Linked DNA regions of Homo sapiens: all the other regions are linked to region 1. Evidence: promoter capture Hi-C in 16 types of primary human blood cells and fetal thymus (Javierre and others, 2016). All regions are on one chromosome and are shown on one strand. The core of a region is centred on a gene start or on the middle of the fragment in contact, and the rest is flanking DNA. Distances in the headings are between cores, read along the strand shown. Region 1 holds the start of CLDN23 (claudin 23). Region 2 has its middle 44 kb from the start of FAM85B. Region 3 overlaps PRAG1 (PEAK1 related, kinase-activating pseudokinase 1). Region 4 has its middle 4.4 kb from the start of MIR4660. Region 5 overlaps PRAG1 (PEAK1 related, kinase-activating pseudokinase 1). Region 6 overlaps ERI1 (exoribonuclease 1). Region 7 holds the start of PRAG1 (PEAK1 related, kinase-activating pseudokinase 1).

The links. The method cuts DNA at HindIII sites, captures the fragments that hold promoters and counts their contacts. A CHiCAGO score of 5 or more calls a contact.
Region 2: a fragment that was not itself captured here is called in contact with the fragment with the promoter of CLDN23 in region 1 in 15 of 17 cell types (total B cells, naive CD8 T cells, M0 macrophages and 12 more); the score reaches 17.8 in total B cells.
Region 3: a fragment that was not itself captured here is called in contact with the fragment with the promoter of CLDN23 in region 1 in 4 of 17 cell types (total B cells, M1 macrophages, M0 macrophages and 1 more); the score reaches 8.2 in total B cells.
Region 4: a contact is called between a fragment that was not itself captured here and the fragment with the promoter of CLDN23 in region 1, in 1 of 17 cell types (total B cells). The highest score is 5.1, in total B cells.
Region 5: a fragment that was not itself captured here is called in contact with the fragment with the promoter of CLDN23 in region 1 in 1 of 17 cell types (total B cells); the score reaches 5.5 in total B cells.
Region 6: a contact is called between a fragment that was not itself captured here and the fragment with the promoter of CLDN23 in region 1, in 4 of 17 cell types (naive B cells, M2 macrophages, total B cells and 1 more). The highest score is 7.4, in naive B cells.
Region 7: the fragment with the promoter of PRAG1 here is called in contact with the fragment with the promoter of CLDN23 in region 1 in 1 of 17 cell types (M1 macrophages); the score reaches 5.7 in M1 macrophages.

The regions. Positions count from the first base shown.
Region 1 is chr8:8,699,746-8,703,719 of GRCh38, reverse strand. CLDN23 (claudin 23) reads right to left here and starts at 1,783. Exons shown (of 1, transcript NM_194284.3): 1 at 1-1,783. The coding sequence starts at 1,321. The coding sequence ends at 443. RefSeq lists an enhancer at 990-1,957 and a silencer at 1,431-2,050. The HindIII fragment of the contact is 12,864 bases long and covers 1-3,974 here.
Region 2 is chr8:8,269,107-8,273,080 of GRCh38, reverse strand. No RefSeq gene overlaps it. Among named protein-coding and RNA genes, the nearest start is that of FAM85B, 44 kb to the right of the region's middle. RefSeq lists a silencer at 2,400-2,694. The HindIII fragment of the contact is 3,264 bases long and covers 81-3,344 here.
Region 3 is chr8:8,342,597-8,346,570 of GRCh38, reverse strand. All of the region lies in intron 3 of PRAG1 (PEAK1 related, kinase-activating pseudokinase 1), which reads left to right. Among named protein-coding and RNA genes, the nearest start is that of PRAG1, 42 kb to the left of the region's middle. The HindIII fragment of the contact is 1,419 bases long and covers 1,370-2,788 here.
Region 4 is chr8:9,042,054-9,046,027 of GRCh38, reverse strand. It overlaps a transcript of ERI1 not described here. Among named protein-coding and RNA genes, the nearest start is that of MIR4660, 4.4 kb to the left of the region's middle. The HindIII fragment of the contact is 937 bases long and covers 1,439-2,375 here.
Region 5 is chr8:8,363,614-8,367,587 of GRCh38, reverse strand. All of the region lies in intron 3 of PRAG1 (PEAK1 related, kinase-activating pseudokinase 1), which reads left to right. Among named protein-coding and RNA genes, the nearest start is that of PRAG1, 21 kb to the left of the region's middle. The HindIII fragment of the contact is 5,911 bases long and covers 1-3,974 here.
Region 6 is chr8:9,020,519-9,024,492 of GRCh38, reverse strand. The region is part of intron 6 of ERI1 (exoribonuclease 1); the gene reads right to left. Among named protein-coding and RNA genes, the nearest start is that of ERI1, 20 kb to the right of the region's middle. The HindIII fragment of the contact is 4,770 bases long and covers 1-3,974 here.
Region 7 is chr8:8,384,777-8,388,750 of GRCh38, reverse strand. PRAG1 (PEAK1 related, kinase-activating pseudokinase 1) reads left to right here and starts at 2,312. Exons shown (of 6, transcript NM_001080826.3): 1 at 2,312-2,430. RefSeq lists a silencer at 1,930-2,609. The HindIII fragment of the contact is 9,968 bases long and covers 1-3,974 here.

The DNA of each region.
Region 1 (3,974 bases), core at 534-3,033:
GAGAGTTTGCATGGCAAGGAGTTATACAGCAGGAAAAAGAAAAAAAACCCAATAATTATATTGATGCAAGATTCATCAGTATTTTAGAATATTGTCGTTTCAACATGTTAAATTGTTTCTGAGCACTGCTGATTTCAGCACTGTCCCTGGTCCACGTGACGCAAATGCCACCCTTTCCATATATTCTTCAGCAAAAATATATGAAAAGCCCGTCACTCCCTAAGAGGACCCTGATCCCTCTGGAGAGGAAAACTAAACTCTTTAAGAAGAAAACCAAACCCAACCTGAACTAATCGTCCAAGGAGTCCTGTTTGGTCCCACGAAAGGCAGATTTCCATCCACACCAGTGAGGGGCAAGTGTCCGGGTTCCAACTCGAAGCCAGGCGGGCCTGTGCGGGGGTGAGTCCTTTGCCACCCGGCGCCCCCCAGGCTCTACAAGCGTCTAGAGGTCGGAGTCGCAGGGCAGCGAGCTGTCGCAGGGGTGGGTGCTGCACGAGGGAGCGTCCTGGGACTCCCACCCCTCCCCGTCGAGGACGTCCACCGAGTTGGTGTAGGCCTTGGGCCGCGGCCGCGGCATGGGGAAGCCGACCTTGGGCTTGGGCTTGGGCTTGCGGTGCTGGGCAGGCGGCGGTCGGTGCTGGCCGTCGCTGTAGTACTTGATGGCGGGCGCCAGGTCGGGCTCGGGCCACTCCACTTGGATGGTGCTGACGCTGCTGCGGCGAGGCCCGGCGGAGGGTCCCTTGCGGCGGCGGCGACAACGCTCGTCGCACCAGGGCGCGAAGCTGAGCGCCAGCGAGAAGCCGCCCAGCAGCAGGAGGCAGCTGCCCAGGTAGCCCAGGACCAGGCTGTAGCTGACCTGCACCGTGACCGGGCTGGCCGGGGCGGGCAGCACGTCGCGGTCCCCCAAGAAGTGGTTGTACCAGGACACCGGGATGAGGCCGAGGAGGCCAGCGACGAAGAGCACGACGCCCGAGAGCCCTGCCAGCACGAAGTTGGGCTCGTCCTGCCAGCAGCGCACGCCCAGCGACGCCAGCAGAAGCCCCAGGACCGTGGCGGCCAGCGAGGTGACCATGAGTGCCCGCGCCACCAGCACGGGCTGGGCCTCGAAGTAGCCCCACTGGTCCGTCTGGCCGCACTCGCGCTCGCGGCTGCTCTGCTCGCGACACATGTCCCACAGGCCCTGGTACAACTCCACGTCCACTGGCTGGTTCAGGAAGCCCTTCACCAGCCGCCAGCCGGGCGCCAGGGTGCCGGTCAGGTTGAGCAGGAGCCCGCAGGGCGCCAACACCATGCCCAGCGTCATCACCACCGGCGTCCGCATCCCGGCCCGCCGCGCCGACGGCGCCCCTGCAGCCTGCCTTCCTTCTCCGCTGTCGCCTTCTCCGCCGTCGTCTTCTCCCTGCCGTGCCCCAGGCTCCGGGGACCCGAAGTCAGCGCGGACGCCCCGGGCTCCGGGTCGGGCTCCTGAGCCCTGATCGCTCCAGGGACGCTCTTTGTCTCCTGCACGGGGACCGTCCCCACTTAGGCTAGTTCCCTCCTGGCGTCCCGGCCGCTCCGCCCTCCTACTGGCCCTAATCGAAACCAGCCCGCGGGCGGGTCTGACCGAAACCGCGGGTCCGGGCGCGGGCGCCCAGGGGCGGCTGCCGCGGCCAAACCTGGCCCGGGAGGGAGGGACCCGAGGTGAGCGCAGGAAGCGGCGGGGCCACCTCGCCCGCGGCAGGTGAGATGGGGATCCGAGCGGCGGGGACACCCCACCTTGCAGCCGGGCGGCTGGGCCACGCCTGGCCTGGACTGCTCACGGCCGGAGCAAAGGTCGCCCCGCCCCTGGGTCCTCGCGCCGCCCCGCCGGGCCAGGCGGGCGGTGGGCGGGGAGGGAAAGAGGCGGCGCTGGCGGGACGCGGTGGCTGCGCAGCTTCCCTGCTGCTCAGCGGATCTCGGTTCCTAGAATTTGTTTCCGGTCCCTGCCCGTCGACCCTGCGCTTATAGCTTAGCCCTTTACTCCCAGAGGGTTCCAGATCGCCCCCTGGTTTGCTCTGCAACTTGCAGCCACTCGCAGAGAAGTGGGCGGTGCCGAGCGCTCCCGGGGATTGGAGGTGCGCTGGGTGAGTGTGCAGAAGCCCACCCAGTCCAGGAGCGTGTCCCAGAACGTTGCACCGGATTATTTCCTTAATAAAGGCTCCACACTCTGGATTAAATTCGTCTCTAAAGAATCTGTGCCAGTGTACTTCTGGGCAGAAGGGTTACACAAGGATTTTACTTTCCTTTTTCAGCCTTGTGAGACTTTCAAGGGGACTAGAAAGAGGGACCAGTGTTCCCGGATGTCCTGCTTAGCGTTTTTTGCAGGTTTATTTAATTTTACAGTGTACTGTGGCCTTTCTCGTCTGTAGGTTATTTTACAACTCTATAAATTATAGAAAGCCTGTAGTATTGCAAATGACTTTTGCCAACATCAAGGCTAATGAGTTCGTCCCAGTGGAATGATTATTGTCCAATGGATACTGACCAGTATGGCATTGATTTGTAAATTCATTTTAGCATTCCTGTTTGTCTGTATATGTGTGTCCTTTTGTTCTTTGCTTTTTTTTTTTCCTTTTTCTTTTATTTATTTATTTATTTATTTATTTATTTATTTATTTTAAACAGGGTTGGGGAGTTTCGCTGTGTTGCCCAGGCTGGTTGCAAACTCCTGGGCTCAGGTGAGTCTCCCGCCTCAGCCTCTGGAGTAGCTAGGACTGCAGGCAAGTGGCCAGCTTCTTTGGTTTTAACATCATACTGGTTTCCTTATTCAATAATGAGTTAAATAACCTCTTTCACACATATTCATTTTATATTTGTGTGAAAGTCACGATGTTTACATTTTTTCTAAAAATTATCCTTTAATAACACTTTTTTGTATTTTCTAGATTTTTACAATGAAAACGTATTGCCTTTATAATTGTTTAAAATTAAAACTATTTTTAAAATTCAAGTTAATTTAGCATTGGTTTGAAATAATTTTGAATATTCCAGAGTGGACAACACTAGGAATGACAGTGACTGCTTTTTTTAAAAGAATATTTTTAAATTAAAAAAAAAACCTGTGGTAACATATATGTAACATACAGTTGACCGTTGTAACCATCTTTAAGTGTACAGCTCATTGGTATGACATACATTCACATTGTTGTGATACCCTCACCACCATCCACTCCTGGGATTTTTTCCTCTTCCCAAACTGACACTGTACCCACTAAACACTAACTCTCCTTTCCTCCCTCCCTCACAGGCCCTGGTGATCACCATTCTACTTTTTTCTCTCTATAAATTTAACTACTTTAGGTACCTCATAGAACTGGAATCGGACCGTATTTGTCCTTTCGTGACTGGCTTATTTCACTGAGCTTAATGTCCTCCAGGTTCATCCATATTGTAGCATGTGTCAGAATGTCCTTCCTTTTGAAGGTTGAATGATATTCTATTGTGCATAAATACCACATTTTGTTTATCCAGTCTTCCATCCATAGACACTTAGATTGCTTTTACCTTTTGGCTATTGTGAATAATGCTGTTGCATCATTTATGTAATAGTGATATATACATCACTTTTAATTTTTTTTAATTAAAAAAATTTTTTTTGAGATGGAGTCTTGCTCTGCTGCCCAGCCTAGAGTGTGACGGCAAAATCTCGGCCCACTGCAACCTCTGGTTCCTGGGTTCAAGCAAGCAGTTCTCCTGCCTCAGCCTACCTAGTAGCTGGGATTATAGGCACCCACCACCATGCCCAGATAATTTTTGTATTTTTAGTAGAGACGGGATTTTACCTTGTTGCTCAGGCTGGTCTCGAACTCCTGACCTCAACTCATCTGCCAACCTTGGCTTCCCAAAGTGCTGAGATTACAGGTGTGAGCCACTGTGCCTGGCCTATGCATCATTTAAAATTTGTCTTGTTTCATTAACTGTGTGGTGATTAACTATCTAAAGCAGGAATCAGTCTG
Region 2 (3,974 bases), core at 463-2,962, 430 kb after region 1:
TCGTAGTAGCCTTTATATACAAATAATAAGTGAGTAACAAATGATTCATTTTTATTAGTTTTTTTAAAATTCTCTAAGCTTTTAATTTGATTCCCCTATCCCTGTCAAGTGCTGCCATAAATTGCGTTTTTTATACAGGGTTCTCCAATTCAGGCCTGTCTCTATGAATCAGACTAGCCTACTCTTTAATTAAGAAAAATGGGGCAGTTTTATAGTAATTTTGAATTTCTCAGACTTTTGGCTCCTCTCAGTCTATGCTTCTCAAACAGAAAATTAAAAAAGGGCTATAGCACTTGACTAACTATTGTCAGTGGTTCAAATTAAACAAAGAACGCATAAATGTTTGGAAGGTATTCAACTTAGGAAACACTACTTTTTTCTGTTTTTTTTTTTTTTTTTTGCTACAAATATGCTTCTTATTTTGAATGTTAATAGACACATTTCCTGGCTTTGCCATGGTAAATAGATAAATGTTCCAGAAATCATTCCATTTTTTGAGATAACAAAATTATTATCATTCTAGGATGGAAAGTGAACATCCTACCCAAAGAATGTACATATACGCAAACTCGAAGTCCACCTCATTGAAATAAACTTGCAAACTATTGTCAATATCAACTTGACGCTGACATAAACCTCTTACCTCATGTGTCACCCGTTATCACTGGACCGTAGCCCTGAGCAGATACTGGAAAATCGTTCACTGGCTCAGGGGAAGTTTCCTGAGAATAGTCATGACAGTGTCCCTGTTTGTATGTGGACGCTAAATGAGATCCCAAAATGAGACTGTTTGCTTTGCTGATTTTCCGTAGTATCATTATATCCCTTTATGTTACAAGAGTTTCACAGATCTTGTACATTCTAGGAAGTTTTATATGTTGATTCAAACCTTTTATTTATCAGCCTTATAAAAACAACTGGAGTAATTACTACTAATGATCTGGGCTTGGCAATTATTGAGAGAACTGTCTGCATAAATAATTTCAAAGGCTCCTGTTTGGGGGTTTAGGAGTTAGGGTGACTTTTTCTGTAAAGACTTGGTGAGAAGTACAGAAAAATGGTTATTTCTAGATGTTTCCCTACCCTTAGAGCCTCTAAAATCAAACAACAGTTTATATGCATTTCTGACTCAGGTTCATGTGGATCATGAATATAACCAGACGTCACCTGTTAATGGCCTTGATAGTTGGTTTATTAACCTTGATAGTTTCATTACATTTTAAAATATCTATCATAGAGATAAAGCAGGTGAATATTCCCCATGCCTAGCAGCTGGTTTTGCTTATCTGCAATTCATAAGTGTTCATTACATCAAGGTATAAGGAAGGAACAGAACCTGGATTGATACCTGAAATTCAAGACATCAGTCACTTTCTACTTTAAAATCTAATTGATCCCTTTCTTTAATTTATTTTTTGTTTGTTTTTGATTTTGTTGTTGCTGTTGTTGTTGTTTTGAGGTAGGGTCTCACTCTGTCACTCAGGCTGGAGTGCACTGGTGCAATCTCAGCTCTCTGCAACCTCTGCCTCCTGGGTTCAAACGGTTCTCCTGCCTCAGCCTCCCGAATAGCTGGGACTACAGGCACTCACCACTATGCCTGGCCAACTTTTGTATTTTTAGCAGAGACAGGGTTTCACCATGTTGGCCAGGCTGGTCTCGAACCCCTGGCCTCAAGTGATCCACCTGTCTCAGCCTCCCAAAGTGCAGGGATTACAGGCATGAGCCACCGTGCCCTGCTTAAATCTAATTTTATTTCCCTCCATGTCTTTCATTCTATGGAGTTTTTCTACTAAGTGAAGCTGAGAAAACAAAAGTAATAATTGGAGGGATGTTTAAGACAGAATTCGAAGCCAGCAGTTCCATATGCCAGCTTTTTGCAACAACTTAAAGGAAATAGTAAAGAAGCAACATTGGTTAGAACAAATGTATATTTCACTACCCAAACCCCCAAATCACACAAGAAATGGGGCACCCATGTTCTTCCATACCTTTGATGCCCATTATGACAACCACAAAAGCCACTGGAAAAAAAAATTAAACATTTATGGGATCTGTTTATCCAGAAGTTGAGTAAGGAAAGAGGTGGGGACAAGACACAGCTCCCAGTGGATGTGAGGAGTTTCCATCTCCCAGGAAGGAGCGACTAACACCAGCTTGGGGCTTCTTGCACCCCAAATATTAAATAATTCATTCTGTATTGTTACATTTCCTGACTTCTAAAAATCAAACATATATTTAAGATATAACCTGAAGTGTTAAGTAGGTAATGGGTACCAGTAATTCCCATAGGGGATAGAATCGGTTTACTCCGATGACCTCTCTCCTGCCTCTGCAAGACACTTAAGGAACAGCAGCTTTCACAAAGTAGAAGGAAAGGAAGGATGACTGTCGATTATGGACTTATCTCTGCCTCAGATGAGGCTGGCCAGAGTACACACTCAGTCTGTGGGTAGGGTGGGGCAGAGGAAGGAGGTATTTCTCTCTGGGAGTCATGGGGCAATGTACAGATAGGTAAATACTGAAAACCAAGTCCCTGGAAGAATGCAAAGTCAGGGCCAAAATAAACATTCCAAACTGGGACAGCAATCCCAGGAGCCAAACAATGAATGGGAAGTAAGGTAAGGTGCCAAATGGGTTAGAAAAACAAGGCAGAAGAGAACCGCGGAGAGAGAGTATCGGGCAAGACCCAAAGAGGGGGCCATGACTGAGAAGTCATGCAGACCACATTTAGAAGAACTAAAATGGCTCAGAACTAACACCCGCCCCCGACCCCTTTCCCAGCAGGCCTTCTCCTTTAGAATGTCTCTAGGTTTGCCTGGGAGAAGCCTCTAAAGATTTCTGGAGCCTGCATTTCAAAGAAGGAAAGTGGGCTCATTGTCACAGTGGATCAATTCCTGGAGCCCCTGTTGGGTCCTTGGCGGGTGCTCTTGGTGTCGCAGGGAGCTATGCAGAGTGGTGTGGATGTTTTCAAAAGAGGGAAGCTAGAGGCAGAAAGCCATAGGGTTGGTGGCCTCAGACACCTTGAAGGGCCCAGGAGGCCCTCTGGTTTCTGGAATATCAGCTCTGCAACAATCTGAAGGAGATTCAGGCATCTTCCATTGAAATGTGTTCCCTGGGGGATGGACAGCTACCAGATTATGATTTATTTTGACCTTAGCACACCACAGGGTTGACTAGGGGTCTTTTGAAGTGGAACCCCCAACCTCTAGGTACCCATCAACTGCCAGGCCTATTGCTATAGAAAGGGACATTCTTGGGGAGGTACACAGGGCATTGTGACAGTAAAGGCCACTAAGTGGAGACAATGAACTAGTTATTTTGGTCCCTGTAGAGCTGCAGAAGCTTCCTTTGGGTTTGCCCTTTTACCAAGCTAATGATTAATTATTTATATAAGTCAACACAGTAATAAGCAATTTATGTGCAATTCCCACTGAATCCTTCCCACACTCTATAGCAGACCCTCCCCAGCATCCACGACCCTGTTTTTCCCTCTATAGCACCCCAATTCTGTTTTGTTCTCCACCTCCACCCGCCTTGTACCCCAGAAGCAAGATGCCTCCTTCTCTGCTGTACAATGGCTCTGGTTTGTTTGAGGGCCTCCCATTTCTTTGGCTAGTTTCTCTTTCAGGAACAAGCATATGACCAACTTTTGGCTAACAGGACCTTGAGGGGACGTGTACCAGAGATCTAGGATGCGCTCCTAGGAGAGAGCTGTGAGAAGGGGGAGCTTCTCTTCTTTCCCTGTTGCACACTGTGCCTAAATCTAATTTTTAGAGCTGCCATCTTGCTACTTGCCTGAGGTTGAAACCTACAAAAGGAGAAAGATGGACCAAGAGGGCCACAGAGAAATGCAGCCAGGGATCTGCTCTTCCATCCCTGGGGCAGATTACGTTTTCTATAAGATAATGCATCTCTTTATTTTTTAACCAATTTAACTGTAGATTTCTGCCTGCTGCAGTCAAATCATCTTAACT
Region 3 (3,974 bases), core at 830-3,329, 360 kb after region 1:
TCCAGCTTTCCACCAACATAGTATGGAGACCACTCTGGCAAGACCTCTCTCTAAGGACAATGGAGGGAAAAGCTATTCTCAAAACACTGGGCAGCAGCTGCAGGGCTGGGGCTCTGAGGACACCGTGCCACTGGCCTGTACCTTTCACCCTGCCTGCCTGGACTGTATGTAATCAACAGTGGGAGGCCGAAAGGAAGTTTGAGGTTAAGCACAAGATGTCTTTTATCACACTACGTGAGTGAAGACATCTGTGGAGACTGTACTCTCACTGTAGATGATAAGAATGTTATTCACCAAACAGACAGAAAAGACTGGAGTATGAGGTTTTTGTCCATGGAAGTATTTTGCAGATGGTTTGCACCAGTTTTGTGAAAGACAGATCAAATTATTATTAATGAAGGAAAAGTGCCTTTAAAAAAGGCTAAGTAGTCTTGTTATACCGCATTGAGTACACTCATTGTCTTTTGGCCTCACATCTGATAGAACAATCCTTTAGGGCTCAGAAAAGTCATCATTGCAATAGTAAGCCTTTTCCAGGGATTCTTAAGAAGTCTATTTTACACACAGTGTAAAGACCCAAACAACTTGATTGTAAGTCTGTGCTTTGATGGCAAGCTTCCTGTTCATTTTTTAATTTGATGTGGTTTTGCTCATGCCCTAATTAAAGTGGCAATTCTCAAAAAGTACAGATTGCACAGGTTTCCAGGGCGGATGCTTTTTAATGCAGTTCATAAGAAAGAGTCATCAGTCCTAAGGTTTTATTTTATTTTATTTTTGAGACAGAGTCTCGCTCTGTCACCCAGGCTGGAGTGCAGTGGTGCCATCTCAGCTCACTGCAACCTCCGCCTCCCGGGTTTGAGCGATTCTCCTGCCTTAGTCTCCTGAGTAGCTGGGACTACAGGCATACACCACCGTGCTTGGCTAATTTTTTGGTTTGTTTTTAGTGGAGGTGGGGTTTCACCATGTTGGCCAGGGTGGTCTCGAACTCCTGGCCTCAAGTGATCCACCCGCCTCTGCCTCCCAAAGTGCTGGGATTACAAGTGTGAGCCACTGTGCCCAGCCTTAAGATTTTGCTATTAAGCAAAAGGGTCACCTACGTGTGTTTTGGAAGACCTGTTATATCCCCATTTACAACTGAGCATTCCAAATGCCTACTGATTTCTGATTTTCTTTTTCTTTCTTTCTTTCTTTTTTTTTTTTTTTGTAGAGACAGGGTCTCACTATGTTGCTTAGGCTGGTATCAAACTTCCAGGCTCAAGTGATCCTCCCACCTCGGCCTCCTAAAGTGCTGGGATTACAGGCTTGGGCCACGATGCCTGGTCACCTGTTGGGTTTTAGCGACCTGGCAGGAAGCTGGATTTCTCAAGCTTTTCCAATAAAGAAGAAGCAGTTAGATCCCAAAAGCCATGAAAATTCCACTTGTGGCTTAGAAACTAAGATTTACCAAAGTCCACTTTGGGAGGCTCCCTTCCTCCCTAACACACACACACACACACACACACACACACACACACACACACACACCCTGCGGATAATTTATCCTGTAATCACAGGGATAGACTAATTTTGTCTGCATTCACTTGATGAGAGTTTTGACAACAGTGACTTCTGCTATAGTAACTATAGACAGAAGAATTAACTCCCAAGTCTTAAAAGAGTAGTTAGGTCTATGATGCAACTGTTTCCAGCCACAGGGGTGCTCTGTGGTGGAACCAACCCTCGTTGAGACTGCCTGTTCCCACTGAGGGGTCTGATGGAAATCCCACTGTGTTATTTTGTGTGTTGTTTGCCTTCCAGAGGCGCAACAACAGATCAACAGGAGCAGCCACCCCCTGCCTCATTCAGGCCCTGTGATTTGCTTTCTCACTAGAAATTTTCATTTTTAGTGTATCAAATATTCCAAGCATGCAGTGAAGTTCAGATAATAATTTAACTGACCTGCAGGTGTTCCCTAAGATTTTTCAAATATTAACATTTTGCCATTTGCTTTAGATTTTTTAAAAATAAAATGTTACTGCTACTGTGGAAGATCCCTCCCTATCCAATTCCCATTTCAACCTCCCATTGCTACCCAGAGCAATCACTGTCTTGAAGTTGATGAGTATCATTTACATTTTATTATGTGCTCCGTAAAACATGTATATATCCTTATATGTTTTTAATCTCTATACAAATGGCATCACATTTTACTTGAGCCTTTTGTAAATTACTTTTAATACTCAGCATTTTAAAATATTTCTTCATATTGCTACCCTAAAATCCAGTTCATTTTTTTCTACTGCTATAAAGTATCCCACCAAAAGACTATACCACAATGTTTTCATTCCTTTGTGGAAGCACCGTTCAACAGTTTAGAAGGTTATTTGCTATTTGTAACGTTGTGAACACCTTTCTCCACTTATAAGAGTTTCTCCAGCTCTGTACTGCACAGTATGGTAGCCACTAGCTTAAAATGTGGTTAGTCAGAATTGCAATGTGAGTAAATATAAAATGCATGCCACATTTTAAGGACTTAGGATGAAAAAAACATATGGAATATATCATTAATAATTGATATAGGTTATACTGATTACTGCTTAAAGTGACAATATTTTGAATACATTATGTTAAATAAAATGTATTACTATAATTATTTTTTCCCATTTATTTTACATTTTTTAAATGTGGTTACCAGAAAACTTAAAATTACATATATGGCTTGCATTATAATTCTATTGGACAAGGCTGGTCAAGACCAGCCAGTAACTGATTGCCCACATGCAAGACATCTGTTTTTGTAAATAAAGCTTTATTAGAAAACATGCCACTAATTTCTATGGTGGCTTTCCAGCTACAACAGCAGAGTTCTGTAGTTGCAACAGAACCCTTATGGTCCACGAGCCTAAAATATTTACCATCTGGCCCTTTAAGGAAAAGTTTGTTGACTCATATTCTAGAGCAGTAATTTTTAACCTTTTTTAAAAACCATGACCCACAATAAGAAACATTAATATCATGACCCAACAAACACACATCTGAAACAAAAGTTTTACAAAACAAAGTTTCACAAATCCTTTCTATGTATTTTCATATTTTCTGTTCTGTTCTGTTTTGTTAAAATAAACTGCTGGTCAGTAAACTGCTAGTGACCCACTCAAGTGACTTAGCCATTCATTCATTACTAGTTATTTAAGTAACATTGCTCAAGGACATATACCCAAAAATGGAGTGACTGGATTATAGGAATGTGTGTATTTAACTTTACAAGATTCATCACATTGTTGTCCTGTGTGTGAGTTTACCAATCTACAGTCTCACAAACAGTGTGAGAGAGTTCCTATTTCCCTATATCTTTAACAAAATCTGACGTTGTCAGTCTGATCTGATGGGTATGAAATGAAATCTTGTTTTATTTACAATCTGATCATTCATAATTTTAATAATCTTTTCATGTGTTGAGTGGCCTTTCTTGTTTCATTTGTGAGTTGCCTGTTCATTTCCATTTTAAAAATGGGGTCATTTGTCTGTTTCTTAGATTTATAGGCACTCTTTTTTATTCTGCCTACCAGTACTTTATTAGTAATGCGGGTTGCAAAGATGTGAGTTGGCCACTCCAAGGTTTGTTTTTTTTCACTTTTTAATGGTGACTTTTATGTTATGAGGCAGAAGTTTTAAATTTTAAAGTAGTCAGATTTATCTTTTTCTTTATATTGCTATTTTTTAGCCCTTATTTTAAAAATTATTTCCTACCCCAAGTTCATAAAGTTTTCTCGTTATTTTTTCTGATGAATTTAAAATTTAATGGGTGTTTCTTTTCTGTTGAAAATTCGTGTTTCTACACGGTATGAGATATGGCTCTACTTTCTTTTTTTCTTCACATCATAAATAGCTGGTGTAAGTACCATGAATTGACTTGTTAATCCTCCAGTCTGTTTCTTGGGTCTGTGTCCTGGAAATGTTGGTCCTAGATTTATCAGAACCAGATCTTTACTGAT
Region 4 (3,974 bases), core at 658-3,157, 340 kb before region 1:
TCTCTGAGTGGGGTCTGGGACTCTGTATTAAAAATTCATCTATAGATATGGCCACGTGCAGTGGCTCACACCTGTAATCTTAACACTTTGGGAGGCTGAGGCAGGTGGATCACTTGAGGTCAGGAATTCAAGACCAGCCTGGCCAACACGGTGCAACCCCATCTCTACTAAAAATACAAAAATATTAGCCAGGCGTGGTGATGCATGCCTGTAATCCCAGCTACTCAGGAGGCTGAGGCAGGAGAATCACTTGAACCCGGGAGGTGGAGGTCGCAGTGAGCCGAGATTGTGCCACTGCCCTCTAGCCTGGGTGACAGAGTGAGACTCCATCTCAAAAAAAAAAAAAAAAAATTCTATAGATTCTGATGATAAATTAGATTTATTTATATTTTAATACAAATAGGGGTCTTGCTATGTTACCCAGGCTGATCTCAAATTCCTGGGCTCAAGTGATCCTCCTGCCTTGGCCTCCCCAGTAGCTGAGATTACAGGCATGAGCCACCATGCCCAGGGTCAATACATCAGATTTGAGAGCCACTGAAACACAGTTTTTGGTATCCATGAATGTTTCTACTAAAGTCTAATGAGAGCCTGCCTATTAAGCTATCTATTCGTGGAGGCTAGACCTATACAGCTGGAGTGAGCAATTCGTTTCAGTGCAAGTATACGTAAGTGGGATGGGGAAGTCCCTACCCTACAGAGCACTGGCTGTAGAACCAGTCTAGTGGAAATCTGAGAAGCCAGCTTAGGGCTGAACGTAATATTACTACTTTTTTTTTTTTTTTTTTTTTTGAGACAGAGTCTCACTCTGTCGTCCAGGCTGGAGTGCAGTGGCGCGATCTCTGCTCACTGCAAGCTCCACCTCCCTGGTTCACGCCATTCTCCTGCCTCAGCCTCCAGAGTAGCTGGGACTACAGGTGCCCGCCACTACGCCCAGCTAATTTTTTGTATTTTTGTAGAGACAGGGTTTCACCGTGTTAGCCAGGATGGTCTCGATCTCCTGACCTCGTGATCCGCCTGACTCGGCCTCCCAAAGTGCTGGGATTACAGGCTTGAGCCACCACGCCTGGCAATATTACTACTCTTAAGGGCTTCGTGGTCAGGACTCTAAGGCGAGATTTCAGAACAGTTCTCACCATGTGAAATCTGGCTCAGTGTTAGCAAGATGATGATGCAGGTGTGGCAGGTCAGGGTGAGAGTCAAGGGCAGGTTTGGAATCTCTATCTGCACATTGAGGAAAAGGAGAACTCCACTGGGAAAATACCGTCTTGGAGACTCCAGTGGTGTTTCATGTTTCTGTGTTTCTGTTTCTTCAACATGCTGTGTCTGCTGCTTGGTAAACGATTGCTTCTCTTTCTAATGTCATGATTTGTTCTTCAAGGCTTAGCTTGTGTTTCCACCTGAAAGAGCCCTCTTTGACCCCCTAGTCCATTAAGCTTTGCTTCTGCTCCTACACTGTCCTCTGTGTACTTTGGCCACATCATGGATTGTAATTATTTCTCCATCATCTCCAGTTGATGATGGGTAGTTGGCAATTTGCTAACTAGACCTACCTGTATGGGGGCCAGTGTGAACTCTCCTACTGAACTGACGCAGTGATGTGTCTGCTGACCTGGTCGCTGGCTTCCCTTCTGTTCCTCACATCCTCCTGATTCCCACACCAAAGTCACCTCGCTTCTTTCAACAATCTCAGCACCATTCCAGGATCCGGGATCACTTATCCGCTAATCAGAGAAAATGTAAGGAGCTCTAGACTTGTTGCCCTGCATCCAGCATGCCATGCTAACAAGGACATCCTTTCGCACCATGATGGATTTTGAAGATGTTTTATTTGAAGATGTTTTATCTTACTCTGATACCCTCGCTAAATCAGCTGTAATTCACTACCCATAATTCAGATGATATCCTATTTAACTCCGACAACAACCCTATGAAGAGTTTTGTAAGGAAAATTGGGAGCTCATAAAGGTTAAGTAACTTGCTGAGGTCCCACCACCAGTAAGTCTCAGAACCAAGATCTAAACCCAGGTCTAATTCCAATCTCTTATAGCCTTAAACACCATGCTACACCGTAGGCCTCTTTTGAAACTTACTTTACATTGTTAACTATCTTTCCCTGCTTATGCCTTATTTTCTCAATTAGAATTAAATATTCAGTAAATATTTCTTTGTTGAATATAAACAATACAATTATGGCCTGTAGTCCCAGCTACTCAGGAGGCTGAGGTAGGAGGATGGCTTGAGCACAGGAGTTCAAGTTCTGCCTGAGCAAGATAGTGAGACCCTGTCTCCAACGAAAATAAAACAAAAATAATATCTCCAATAAACAACACAATTATGGATAGTGTGTCACTGGACTGAACTTTAAAAAAGCTTCCAAAATTGCCCAACCTCTCATGGAATACCAAATACATAATAATTTTCTAGAACTATCTATTTAAAAGTTTCTACCAAAGTGAGTCTAGGCCTATTTGCATCTCATCTGCCTATCATGGATGATGAAAAGATTTCTCCACAATTGTCTCCATCTTCCATAAGAGATGTTCCTGAACTCCAAAGAACCACCACTTCCTCTGAGCTCTTTGATTTAGGCCTGGCCTCTACATGCTTGGGTGAAGAATGTAAAAAGTAAGACAGAATGATGGGGTCCAGGCACAGCTCTGATTATTCATAATTGAGTCACAAAAGCGTCACAAAAGCTGGGCTTGAAACTGGGTGGTTGGGGGAGGGTGCTGCATACACAGGTTTCACCTACATATCTGAGCCACACAAAAACACACTCATTGCTTGTCTTAAAGGTGGGAGTTTCAAGAAGACACAAGTGTTTTGAAGGATGTCAGAAATGGTTTGCATCAATTATACACGAAGAAGTAGAATAACACCTTAAAAATAAATCCGAATTATGTACCCCTTCCACAGTCAAGCATGGTTCCAAGGCCAGAAACCTAAAGAGATGCCCTTAGACGTAAGAGTAGAATCAAACACAATCTATTCCAACAGCAGAAATGAAGTGTCTACTGCCAGGAAGTGCAGCCACACCTTTCTTCTCCAGATCCTTGCAGACTGCAGAGCATGTGCCGGGGGACATACGGCACTGCGCGTGGGAGCATGCAGGGTAACTGACTGAAGCAGGTGCACGTGTAGGTTGAGCATCCCTTCTCTGAAATGCTAGGGACCAGAAATGTTTCAGATTTTGAATCTTCTCAGATCTTGGAATATCCGTATTATATTGATATTTATTCGTTGAGCATCACTAATCCGAAATCATGACAACACTCAAAAAGCTTCAGATTTTGGATCGTTTCTGATTCTCGCACTAGGGATGCTCAACCTGTGTTACCTCCTCAAAGCATAACACTTCCCTCCAGTTTTGTTAGCTAACTTTCATTCTGGACACAAGGACCCATCGCATCTAGGCTTCCTCCAGGGCCACAAAGCCCCAGAAGGCCTGCGGTGTGACAAATGACGCTACCTCCTCAAAGAACAGGGAACTGGCAGATTTGAGTATAATGGGAGGGTGTTCCCTGACTTGAGTGACACAAGAGTAGGCTGTGTGTGTGTTGGAGGCGGGAGAGGGCGTAGCAGTTGAGGAAATAAGCATCTGTTTGTTTCTTAATGTATAAAATTTAAAACGCTGGTGACACCTATGAAATACTCAAGAAATTGGATCTCAAAAGAGAGATCAGGGCAATAGATTTTAGGAACCTTTTGCAGAGAAGGGATAGTTGAAATCTTGTGTGCCACAGAGAGAAATTATCGCAAAGGGAGGACCAAGGACACAGCGTACAAAACATACGCTGGGTGAGGCATTCTGGCAATGCAGCCTCCAAGTTCCTTCTCTTTTCTGTGCAGACATTTCTCTTGGCCTTGAGGAATTCCTAATGCTTATCTTATTCTACTACATCTAATTTCTTTCCCCCAGGTGGGTTTGGTTTGTTCTTGCTTTTCCAGTTCCTTGAGGTACTCTGTTAGGT
Region 5 (3,974 bases), core at 552-3,051, 340 kb after region 1:
TGACCTTATGACCTTGAAGGTCACGAAGAAAAGGAGGGAGAGTCCAATTTTAAAAGCAGTCAGCGTGGTGGCATCACTTAACGCGATTCTTTTTTTTTTTTTTTTTTTTTTTTTTTTTTTTTTTTTTTTGAGATGGAGTCTTGCTCCTTTCACCTAGGCTGGAGTGCAGTGGCACGACCTCAGCTCACTGCAACCTCTGCCTCCCGGGTTCAAGCGATTCCCCTGCCTCATCCTCCCGAGTAGCTGGGATTACAGGCGCCTGCCACCATGCCTGGCTGATTTTTGTATTATTAGTAGAGATGGGGTTCACCATGTTGGCCAGACTGGTCTTGAACTCCTGACCTCATGTGATCCACCCGTAATTCTTATATTATGTACAGATCAAAAGGATGGTAAGATTTTATGACTGCATATTGTTGAACCATGAGAACACTTGGGTTGCATCCTCCATGCCAATTCTGATCATTTGGAGCCCATGCATCAGGAATGCTGGCCATCATCTATTTGTGGTGTCTGCAGGTTGTAGGGAGGTGGGGGTGCAGATACATGTCATGTGCTGGCTATTTGCTGATTCAGCCATAAAATCTAAAATTTGTCTTCTAAAATGCATGATGTAGCTGGGCACGGTGGCTCATACCTGTAATCCTAGCCATTTTGGGAAGCAGGAGAATCACTTGCACCCAGGAGTTCAAGACCAGCCTGGGCAACATAGCGAGACACTACCTCAAAAAAAATTACAAAAATGAGTAGGGCATGGTGGCACATACCTGTAGTTACAGCTACTTGGGAGGCTGATGTGGGAGGATTGCTTGAGCCAGGAGGTCAAGGCTGCAGTCAGCCATGGTAACACCACTGCACTCCATCCTGGGTGACAAGGTCAGATCTTGTCTCAAAAAAAAAGATAAAAATAAAGTGCAAAATCTCAAGTGGTTAATACCCATTTTTGTTAGTAATTCAAGAGTTTAAGAGTTCCCAGCTGGGCTCAGTGGCTTACATCTGTAATCCCAGCACTTTAGAAGGCAGAGGCAGGAGGATCATCTGAGGTCAGGAGTTCAAGACCAGCCTGGCCAACATGGTCAAACCCTGTCTCTACTAAAAGTAAAAAAATTAGCCAGACATTGTGGCAGACGCATGTAATCTTAGCTACTCAGGAGGCTGAGGCAGAAGAATTGCTTGAACCCGGGAGTTGGAGGTTGCAGTGAGCCAAGATCATGCCATTGCACTCTAGCCTGGATGACAAGAGTGAAACTCCGTCTCAAAAAAAAAAAAAAAAAGAATTCCCATGCCTTTGGGTGGTAGGGGGACTCTGTCTAGCCACTTCTGTTTGGCAGATGACGGCCATTCTCTTTGAATAGAGACTCTAATTTTAGACCGAAATGCCAAAATGTCTTGTTTCTTCTTAGTGAGTGATTATGAACGTCCCATGAATTTTAACCATTTGTGGAACTCTGCATTTTAGTAAATAACAGTTACTATTAAGTTTATTACCCATTATTTAAAGGATTATTTTCCTTTATAGACCTTCAATTTACTGTTTCTATCCTTAAATCTTATTAAGCAATGTGTTTTCACTTAGCCTTATTTTGTTTGTTTGTTTGTTTGTTTGTTTTGAGACAGGGTCTCACTCTGTCACCCAGGCTGTAGTGCAAGCACGATCTCAGCTCACTGCAATCTCCACCTCTTGGGTTCAAGAGATTCTCCTGCCTCAGCCTCCCAAGTAGCTGGGATTACAGGGGCATACCACCATGTCCAGCTAATTTTTGTATATATATATGTGTGTGTATATATATATATATAGGGTTTCACCACATTGGCCAGGCTGGTCCCAAACTCCTGACCTCAGGTGATCCACCCTCCTTGGCCTCCCAAAGTGCTGGGATTACAGGTGTGAGTCACTGCACTCAGCCCACTTAGCCTTATTCTCTTTGGCTTGTTGCATATATTTATTTATTTATTTATTTTTGAGTTGGAGTTTCACTGTTGTTGCCCAGGCTGGAGTGCAATGGCGCGATGTCAGCTCACCACAACCTCCAACTCCTGGGCTTAAGTGATTCTCCTGCCTCAGCCTCCCGAGTAGCTGGAATTACAGGCACCTGCCACCATGCCGGGCTAATTTTTTGTATTTTTAGTAGAGACGGGGTTTCTCCATGTCGGTCAGGTGGTCTCGAACTCCTGACCTCAGGTGATCCACCTGCTTTGGCCTCCCACAGTGTTGGGATTACAGGTGTGAGCCACCATGTCCAGCCGTTGTATTGATTTTCAGTGCCCAGGATTGGGGAGTGAGGTGGCAGATGCAGGAGCTGTGTCAGAATCTTTGGGAGGGATAGTTTAACAATGAAAATTCAGTGATGTAACATAATTTAAATTGGGAAGATGAAAACAAAACTATTGTTTTCCTAACACATACTACTTATAGTTTTTCTGAATCTTCTCCACTGGTGAAAAGACAGACCATCATTTTTATAGAGATGCTTGATTGAAAACAGGTCATGTCTCCCTAGGAGAAAATAGAAGAAAACCAGGACAGAGATATTTGCTGACCTGTCATATTTCCTTGGTATCCTTTCTTCAAATCTTTCAAAATATCTTCTCTATATTCATGTCATCTTCAAGACGTGAAACAAGGAAATTGTCTGTACAGACAATTTCCAGACCCTTGATCCCAAACACTCTCAATGCTTGTCTGTGTTTCCTACAAAAAGCAGAAACCTGAGAAAGATAAGGAGTACTTTGCATGTAGAATAGAGAAGATCCTTACAGTTCAGGGTCTGAGATTCCATCTTGACATTCATTTGATCGCTAAATATTGAAGACTTCTTTTAGGTGGAGCCGTGACCATACATTGGTAGGAAAAGTACAGATTGCTTACGAGATGATTTTGGCACACTTGTTGACTGTATGGAGAAAACAAAAAAAAAAACAACATTGAAATCCTGCCATATAGTGTCATATAGTGTATGTAAAAGTGGACTGCAGATGGAATAATGATCCAAATGAGAAAAATAAGACCAAAAAGCAAATTTAAAAACATTCACAGCATTTTTAAGACCCTAGAAGAATAAGCCATAAAATGATGGCTTTGACTTCATCAAATTAAGGATTTCTGTTGAACTGAGGATGCCATCAGCAGTTAATAGATGGGTGAGAAATTAAAGCAGTGTATCAAAGACTGACAAGGCATTAACATGTAAGGTGCTCTTGTAATTCAAGCAGAACAATATGTGGAAACCAGTAGAAAAACAGGCAAAAACATGGATAGGCAGTTAACAGGAGGGAAAAGCTAAATGCAGGGCAAGAATTTGAAGAGCTACTTAACTTCATTAATAATCAGAGAAGCATAAAACAGTAAAATAGCACATTATGTCCATCAGATTGATGACAATTACAAAGTGGGATAATTCCAAATTTCAGCAAAAATACAGGAAAATGGCTATTAAACAGCTGTTAAATTAAGTATGAGACTACATCTTGTCCCCACAACCTTCATTCCTGAGTATATATTCACACAGGTCAGTAAGGGGACATAAACAAGGAAGTTTGTCATAACATTATAGTAGCAGGGAGTTAGAGCAAGTCCAGGTATTCATCTCTAGAGAAATAGGTAAGTAAAATGTTATGATTATGAAATAAACTATTTAATAGCAGTCAGAAGCAATGAACTAGAAATATGTCCAGAAACATGGGTGAACCTCATACTGGTATTGACTGAAATAACTAAGAGAATGAAATCTATAGCACAATATACTTAATATAAATTAAATATAAACAGTTTCATAAAATAACACTATGTCTGTTTTTAAGGAAAGCTGCATTCTTAACCTTTTATGTAGTTTTTAAAAAATAGACATACACATAAAATATGTATATATGTTACATATAACATAAAATTCACCATCGTAACCATTTTAAAGTATAAAGTTTAATAGTAGTTTCCATTTGTTGTATATTAAATCAGTCTCCAGGGAAGTCTTTTC
Region 6 (3,974 bases), core at 679-3,178, 320 kb before region 1:
ACTGAGACCCCACCACTGCACTCCAGGCTGGATGACAGAGTGAGATTCCGTCTTGAAAGAAAAGAAAAGAAAAGAAAAGAAAAGAGAAAAAAGAAGAGAAAAGCAAAAAGAAACAGCTGTATAATTTTGTAAATGCTAACTCCACATTTGCGCTTGATATGCCACGCACAAAGAAAGTTTGGGATTTCCCCCAAAATCTTATACAAAAATCTGTCTTAAACTGTATTTTTATTTATATTGTTTCAGCCTACTTTTAGAAAAACCAAGTCCCATCCTAAGCGAATTATTTCACAGAAATGTATTACAGTTATTTGCCTTTTAAATTAAGCTCCAAGTTTAATTACCCATTTCCACCCTTTGCCCCCAAGAAAGACTGGATAGAAGGTCATTTTTGGCCAGGCGCAATGGCTCATGCCTATAATTCCAGCACTTTGGACGGCCAAGGTGTGCGGATCACAAGGTTGGGACTTCAAGACCAGCCTGGCTAATATGGTGAAACCCCGTCTCTACTAAAAAATACAAAAAAATCAGCCAGACGTGGTGGCACATGCCTGTAATCCCAGCTACTCGGGAGGCTGAGGCAGGAGAACTGCTTGAACCCGGGAGGCAGAGGCTGCAGTGAGCTGAGATCATGCCACTGCACTCCAGCTTGGGAGACAGAGTGAGACTCCGCCTCAAAAAAAAAAAAAAAAAAAAAAAGTCATTTTTACTTAAAAAAAAAATGTTTTTAGACATACCATATAATATACCTTATTAGCATTATATACAGCAGAAACTTGTGACAGAGAGTTTTATTTAGGTCTTAGATAAGGTACAAAAAAAGAAGGAAAACATAAGTTTCTTCTACTTATACAACTAATTGCATTATAGTTATCTATTACGAAGAGGGGAAAACCACACACAAAAAGAGCAGGCTAACAAACTGGCCAAAATAAACAGGTGCACAAAGAGAAACCACTGTTTACTCAAAAAAGGAGGGAGCATTTTATTGCCTTATAATATCTACAACTTTCCGATTACACTAATATACTGTGAGCTGTAGATTTATGCATAACTGACTGAAAATTATTTTAAGGTTTATTAATTTTTAATAATAAAAATTATTCCATCTGGGAGTTGTAGCAAAAAAAGAACCTAAAGGGGATCGAGCTTCTCAACTGGAGTATAAACTGACATGAAATACAAAAGACAGAGACACCTCTGAAACCACATTCCAGGATATGATTACAAAATCCAGATAAGGGGAAACACAACAGGACAAATGACTCAGTTTCTTAAAAGAATAAAGTAAAATAAACTGCTAGGGAAGAAAAAGAAGAGATTAAAAAAAACTAAAGAGATGTATTAACATACCAAACATATCAAAGACTAAAAAACTTAAGAGACATATTAACCAACTACAAATCTGTGAACCTTATCCTGATCTGACTCAACACACAAAAGGTAAAAGAAAATATTTATGACTATTTGATGAAGGAATTACTGCTAATTTTTTAAGATGTCACAATGGTATGGTAGCTGTGTTTCTAAGAAAATGACCCTTAGCTTTTGGAGCTACGTAATGAAATTTTTACAGATCAGATAACATAATGTCTGACTTCTGCCTCAAAATAATAAGGAAGAGGAAAGTGGGTGGGGATACACATGAAACATGACTGGCCATGAGTTTCTAATTGTTGAACCTGGGTCATGAGGACTCATACCTATTTCTGTTATGTTTGAAATTTTCCATAACACAATTTTTAAAAAAATTCACAAAATGAGTTCAAAAACACAAAAAAAGATCCACAAAAGGCCAGGTGCAGTGGCTCACGCCTATAATCCCAGCACTTTGGGAGGCCGAGGCGGGCAGATCATTTGAGTCCAGGAGTTCGAGACCAGCCTCACCAACATGGCGAAACCCCGTCTCTACTGAAAATACAAAAATTAGCCAGTTGTGGTTGTGGGCGCCCGTAGTCCCAGCTACTCGGGATGCTGAGACAGGAGAACTGCTTGAACCCAAGAGACAGGGTTGCAGTGAGCCAAGATCGCACTACCGCACTCCAACCTGGGCAACAGAATGAGACTTCATCTCAAAGACAAATAAACCAAAAAACAAAATAAATTCACACAAAAAGATTATCAAATATAATCAAAGGACTAGCACCCAAAGTAAAAATCTATAGACCAGTAAAATACACAGGTAATGAAAAAACAGACTACCCAATTTTTTTTAAAACAGTCAGAAATTTAAATAAGGGGTTCGCAAAAAAGCAATCCAGATAGCTGATACCTCAATGAGATGGTATCACACACCCGTCAGATTTACAAAACATTTAAAATGTATGACAATATCAGATGCTAGCAAAAACTTACAGTAACTATAAACTCACATAGCACTGATAAGAGTGCAAACTGGTACAATTCCATTGGAAAACTATTTTTGTATTATCTAGTAATGTCAATGATGTACATATCCCATGACCCAGCAACTGCACTCTTAGGTTTTTCTTAGAAAAACGAGTGCACAGACACCAGGGGACATGCACAACAATGCTTATAAAAGTACTCTTCATGGAAGCCCCAAATAAAAACAATCCAAATGGCCAGCCAAAGTAGAACAGATAAACAAATCTGGTATAGTCACACAATGGAATTAATAGCAATAAAGTGAATGAACTGCAGTGACATACAAGACGTGGATGGATCTCAAGCATAATATTGAAAAAAAAAAAAAAACAAAAAAAACAAATAATATAGCCAGTATAATACTAATTATATCGTGCTCAAAGCCAGACAAAACTATATAATATAAGGATATACATTTAAATACTAAAGCTATAAGGAATAATAAGAAAATGATTACCATGAAAGGAAGAATTAGGGTTAACTCCAGGAGGAAGGAAGGGAGTTAAGTGGGTGGAAGTTACAAGGGTATTTGCTTTATAGCAATCGGCAAAACTCTACTTTTCTGCATGCATACTTCTCAGTTTTAAAAGACTGTTAAAACAGAAGAGTCTGTAAGGAAAAGCACCTTTTCTCATGAAACTACTTTAGAACATGCTTCTCCAAAATGAAACTGTAAAGGGAGAAAAATGACATAGTATCTAATGCATGAGAATTAAAGGAAATCCCCTAAGATGATTTTAAAAGAAGCCTGAAGAACTAACAGTTCAGATTAGAACAGGATTAAAGGCTCCAGGAAGATAGTCTGCAAGGGAAAAACAGATGAAAAAAGAAAACCTGACAGACTACCTGAGTGTTCTCAGTCATAAGAAGTGACTTACAGTTTGAATGGAGAGTAAGGGGATAAGTAAACAACCGCGGAAGTAAATTATTACATCCAGGGGAAAGTTGTGGACACTCTCCATAGTCACGGGAGTATGAACACTGAGTGCTCTGACTGAAAGGTAATAGAGCTATAGTAGGAAGATGCAGGAAGGGAAGGACAAGCAGGAGTGGTAACTTAATTGAACTCAATCTTGATCTTTCAGGGCAGGAATTCAATAGATCGCAAACTGAAAAGTCAAGAAGTAGTATAAGCATGAAACTTAGAAATACAAAGGTAAATATTTGAAAAAAAACAAAAACAAAAACAAAAACAGAGCTTTACATAAGTTGAAAGTGTTTGCCTCAGAACAGGAACCAGTTCTGGTGAAGGCTATGGCAGAAGACTGCCATTCATTGTAAGTCTTGCAATAATATTTTAAACATTTACACGGCACACGCATATTAACTTTGATAAATGTGAAGTAAAATTAAAATCTAGTGGGGAGCATTTGCTCCATGAACAATCCACATACTGACTGCCCCTACAGTTTCAAACTTGTCAGGTATATATAGTTAACCTACTTAAATAAAGTTAACAGGTTGAATGAGAAAAAGGCTTATCTAATTTGAACATAAGGAATTTGGAATCTGAAGAGTAAGAACTAATTATATGGCTTTTTTCCATGAAAAACACCTGGAAAATTACAATCTAACGTACATGCAAA
Region 7 (3,974 bases), core at 1,063-3,562, 320 kb after region 1:
TCACTCCAGCCTGATTGAAAGATGAAACTCCATCCCAGGAAAAAAAAAAAAAAGAATAAGTTAGGTAAAGAGAAGAAAATAAAGTGCAAAAGTAAGTGCTTCTTTTATGTGTTCAGCACAGCCTTTATTCTGTGAGGTCAATGTCTCTCTTACAGAGGAAAGAAGTGAAACATTTAGCCTGAATCCTGAGAACCAGGAACTTCTCAAACATCTTAGTTTGCCCTCTCCCAGTGTAAATGAATTGCACACTTTCTGAAGTCACTTTTGTATTTCTCCATTGCAGACCACTTTGTACCTACCTGTTTAATCAACATCTTCCCCTCTTGAGTCTTGGTAGGGTCTGGATCTTTCAGCTCTGTTGGATGCTCATGAAGTGTAACCAAAGTTTCCCTTCCTTTTTTTTTTTTTTTTTTTTTTGAGACAGGGTCTTGCTCTGATACCCAAGCTGGAGTGTAGTGGTGCGATCTCAGCTCACTGCAACCTCCACCTCCCTGGCTCATGTGAGTCTCCTGCCTCAGCCTCCTGAGTAGCCGGGATTACAGGCGCCCACCACCACACTCGACTAATTTTTGTATTTTTAGTAGAGATGAGGTTATACCACATTGCCCAGGCTGTTCTTGAACTCCTGGCCTCAGGTGATCTGCCAGCCTCGGCCTCCCAAAATGCTGGGATTACAGGTGTGAGCCACCGCGCACGGCCAGTATTTGTTCAAATGATTTCTCTCCACTTAGGGGAGAGAGAAAAATAGGGCTGGACTACCTGCACTTGGCAAGGGCAGAGTGGCAGAGTAGACTTGCCTACCAGCGAAGCCAGACAGCCTTTGGTTCCAATCTTAGTACTACCACTTTTCAGCTGAGGAACCCCAGCAAATTGTGAGGCCCCCGAGCCTCAGTTTTCTTATCTGTAGAATGGGGATAATGATGCTCTCCTCATAGGATTGCTTAGCGCTGGGTAGGTCCTTAAGGAATGTCCATTGCACTCCCATCCCTCTACAGCTTCCCCCAGATTCTGTCCTCTTAGGAGGCATGGGTGTCACTGGAACATGAGGAAGAATTCCCTGGATCCTTTTTTCCCTTTCCTCACACAGAAGCCAAACCTCAAATACACATCTTCCCTCTCTGTCCACACCCACAGCAGCAAAGAGGAGAGCCAGGGATCTGGGGGTGGGGGTGGGGGCCCATCTTCCTCCTCTCAGTGGGTGGGGGCTCGCAGGCTGACTGGCAGAGGACCTTCACTGGAGTCAAAATAAACTGCCTTCCTGGGGAGGGGATAGAGGGCGAGAGAAGCCGCAGGTATTGTTTTGTGGGGGAGGGGGGTCCTCTTCCTATTCCATTTCACTGAATTCTTCCCACCCGGCATGGCCCTGGGAGGTGACCATAGCCCTGGCTCCCCGAGTAAACACCCAGGTCAAGCTACAGGACTGACTGGGTCTTAAGCTATTATACTCCCAGTGAAAAGATTTTTTTAGCCCGAGGACTATCTCGAACTCGTTCTATCTCAGTGAATGACTCACTGGAAACGGTGTAAACACAGGTGTATTACTGGCCTGCGGAAGACTTGGATGTCCCAGCATGGTAGAAGGCCAGGTCCCTGCAGTGCAACGCTTGCATTCTACATCCAGAAAACTAAAGTTCAAAGAGGTTAAGCAATTTGCCAGAATCCTGCAGTCCAGGGACTGAGCGGAACCTGGAATCCGCCACCGGGACTTCCAGCCCTGCTCCCTCCGGCGCCACCCTCTTCCCAGAGGTAGGGAGAGCTGAGGCTCGCTGTGCTCACGTGGCTTTCAGAGCCCGCCTCGGACCCTGACCTGTATTCCACTCCCGACCCCACACTTCCTCGTTTCCCCTTCCTTCTCCCTCTCTTCCCAGGGTCCCGCAGGGCCGGCTGGATGAAGTGATGCCGGGCACCTATACACGCATGATGGCAAAAGGAGGATTGCAACGCCAGAGCTCGCCCCTCCAGAGCTGTGCAGGGTCCCCACCGAGGAGGGGGTGCAAACGGGTGCTGGGCTCGGGGGTCAGCCCGCGCCAAGTCTGGGGCTGGGGGCGGAGCCTGCCGGTCCGGGGCGGGAGGGTGGGCAAGAGAGGGAGTCCCGGGGCCTGGAGACTTTGGAGGAGTCGGGGCCCTGGGGGTAGGAGACCGCCGGGTGGGAGCGGCAGGCGCAAGCCGGGCGGCGGGGCGCGCGGGCCAGGCGGGGCCGGGCGGCGGCAGGGACTGCGGAGGTGCGGCGTGAGCTGGGGCGGGCGGCGTCACCGGAGGCGGAGGGGGCGGAGCCGCGCTCACAGCTGCCACCCGGCCGCCGGGCCCAGGCAGAAGCCACCCGCCCGCGGCCGGGCACGCACCGCGCGCAGACCTTCTGCGAACAATGCTCCGGCCGGGCGGCTGGCGGCTCGGAGACCGACGGAGGGGCCGGGGGAGCGCAGCCCAGAGGTGAGCCCGCGACGCGCTCTCCAAATTCGGCCTCTTTTTGTCTGGCGAGCGTGGTCGCAGAGGGGAGCTTTGGAGGGGCGCTGCGATCGCCGAGCGGGCTACCCCCGGGGTGACAGGCGACCGCTCGGGAAGTGGGCAGTGCCGGGGCCGCGTGAGCCCCGGGTGGTGCCCGAGGTGCAGGGAGGCGCCCGGCCGGGAGGACCGAGGAGCTGGAGGGTGTTTTTGATTCATTCGAGAATCGCGCTCTTTAAAACGGGGAAACTTTCCTACGAGTTCCAGGAGGGAGGACCGACTGTTAGGATGGTTTCTCTGGTCTTGCTGCTCTGTCTGCGGCCGGAGGCTGAAGCGCTTTGAGGACTGCTTTCCACCGCTAGAGTATTGTCAAGGGGGAGAGACGGAAGGCCGCCTGGCTGCTGGGACCAGGACCCGGGGGGATGGTTTGGGGGTGCAGGGTATGCAGCAGCGGGGCTCCAGAGGCAACGAGATGATGCCCTTTTCCCCGAGCCCTGGCTGAGCCCTCTGAAACGCATGCTGTGAGCACGTTATTAACCTTTGCTGGTATCCGGGGACACACACACTTAGAACATAGAATCCTCTGCTGGGCATGGAGGCGGCCGGGCATTCGCAGCGGAGAGCGCCAGCTCACGGTGTGTGCGTTTCTCTCAGGTAAGCTCTCCCTGCACATGGTTTTGCAGAGCCGATAGCAAAGCCCAATGGTCTAGGGGCGAGGAGTTTTGGCGATGCATTCAGTGCGGAGTCAGGCTCAGAAGGCTTTCCTGATCACTGGCCTGAACTATTCTTAACAACTCCTCTCCCCTTCCCTTTCTGAGAAGAAAATTTGACAGAAAGCCCTAGGGAATTCCGCAGTTATTTTTCTCTCCTGAGGTCTGGTTGGTTTCGACTGTAGTGGGTGCAAAACCACATTCCTCCCTCTGAGATTTTCTTTCCTCCAGCACTGGAGGAAGAAAAAAGAAAAGGAAAAGTTGGGTGAATATCGTAATTTACCCTCTGCGTGAGTAGGGAGGCAGGGGGCTAGTGGGTGGTAAAGTTGTCACTTTCTCCTTTCTGCCTGGTCAGCCCTGGCCAGTGGAGTGTGCTGAAGTTCAGACACTTTCCACACATATTTCTTTCCTTTTACTGGCGTTGCATTAATTTAACTGTAACATACAGAAAAAAATTTTAGGTGAATGTTTTCTGCAATTCTGTCACTTCAGAATAAGGCATAAGCAACTTCTGATGTAAGTCTGAGGGGGTATTTTGGGCCAAAATATTTAATCTTAAAGATCTGGCCACCTTGATTCTTCAGATTCTTTTTTGAAATGGGGTGGGAGTGTATCTGACAGCTTCAGTCTTGCAAACTGTAGCCACAAATCTAGTGCAGAAGTTTGCAGAGGCAAAGACATTTTTTTCATGACTTGGATCAGAAAGAATGCTGAGCTCTTTTTTCTAATCTGACACTGCAGCCTCCTACTGAAATGGGGAGGATTTGCATAATTCTGGGGGCTGCCTCCCCTCAGAAGTAAGGAATGTGGGCTGCGAAGTGC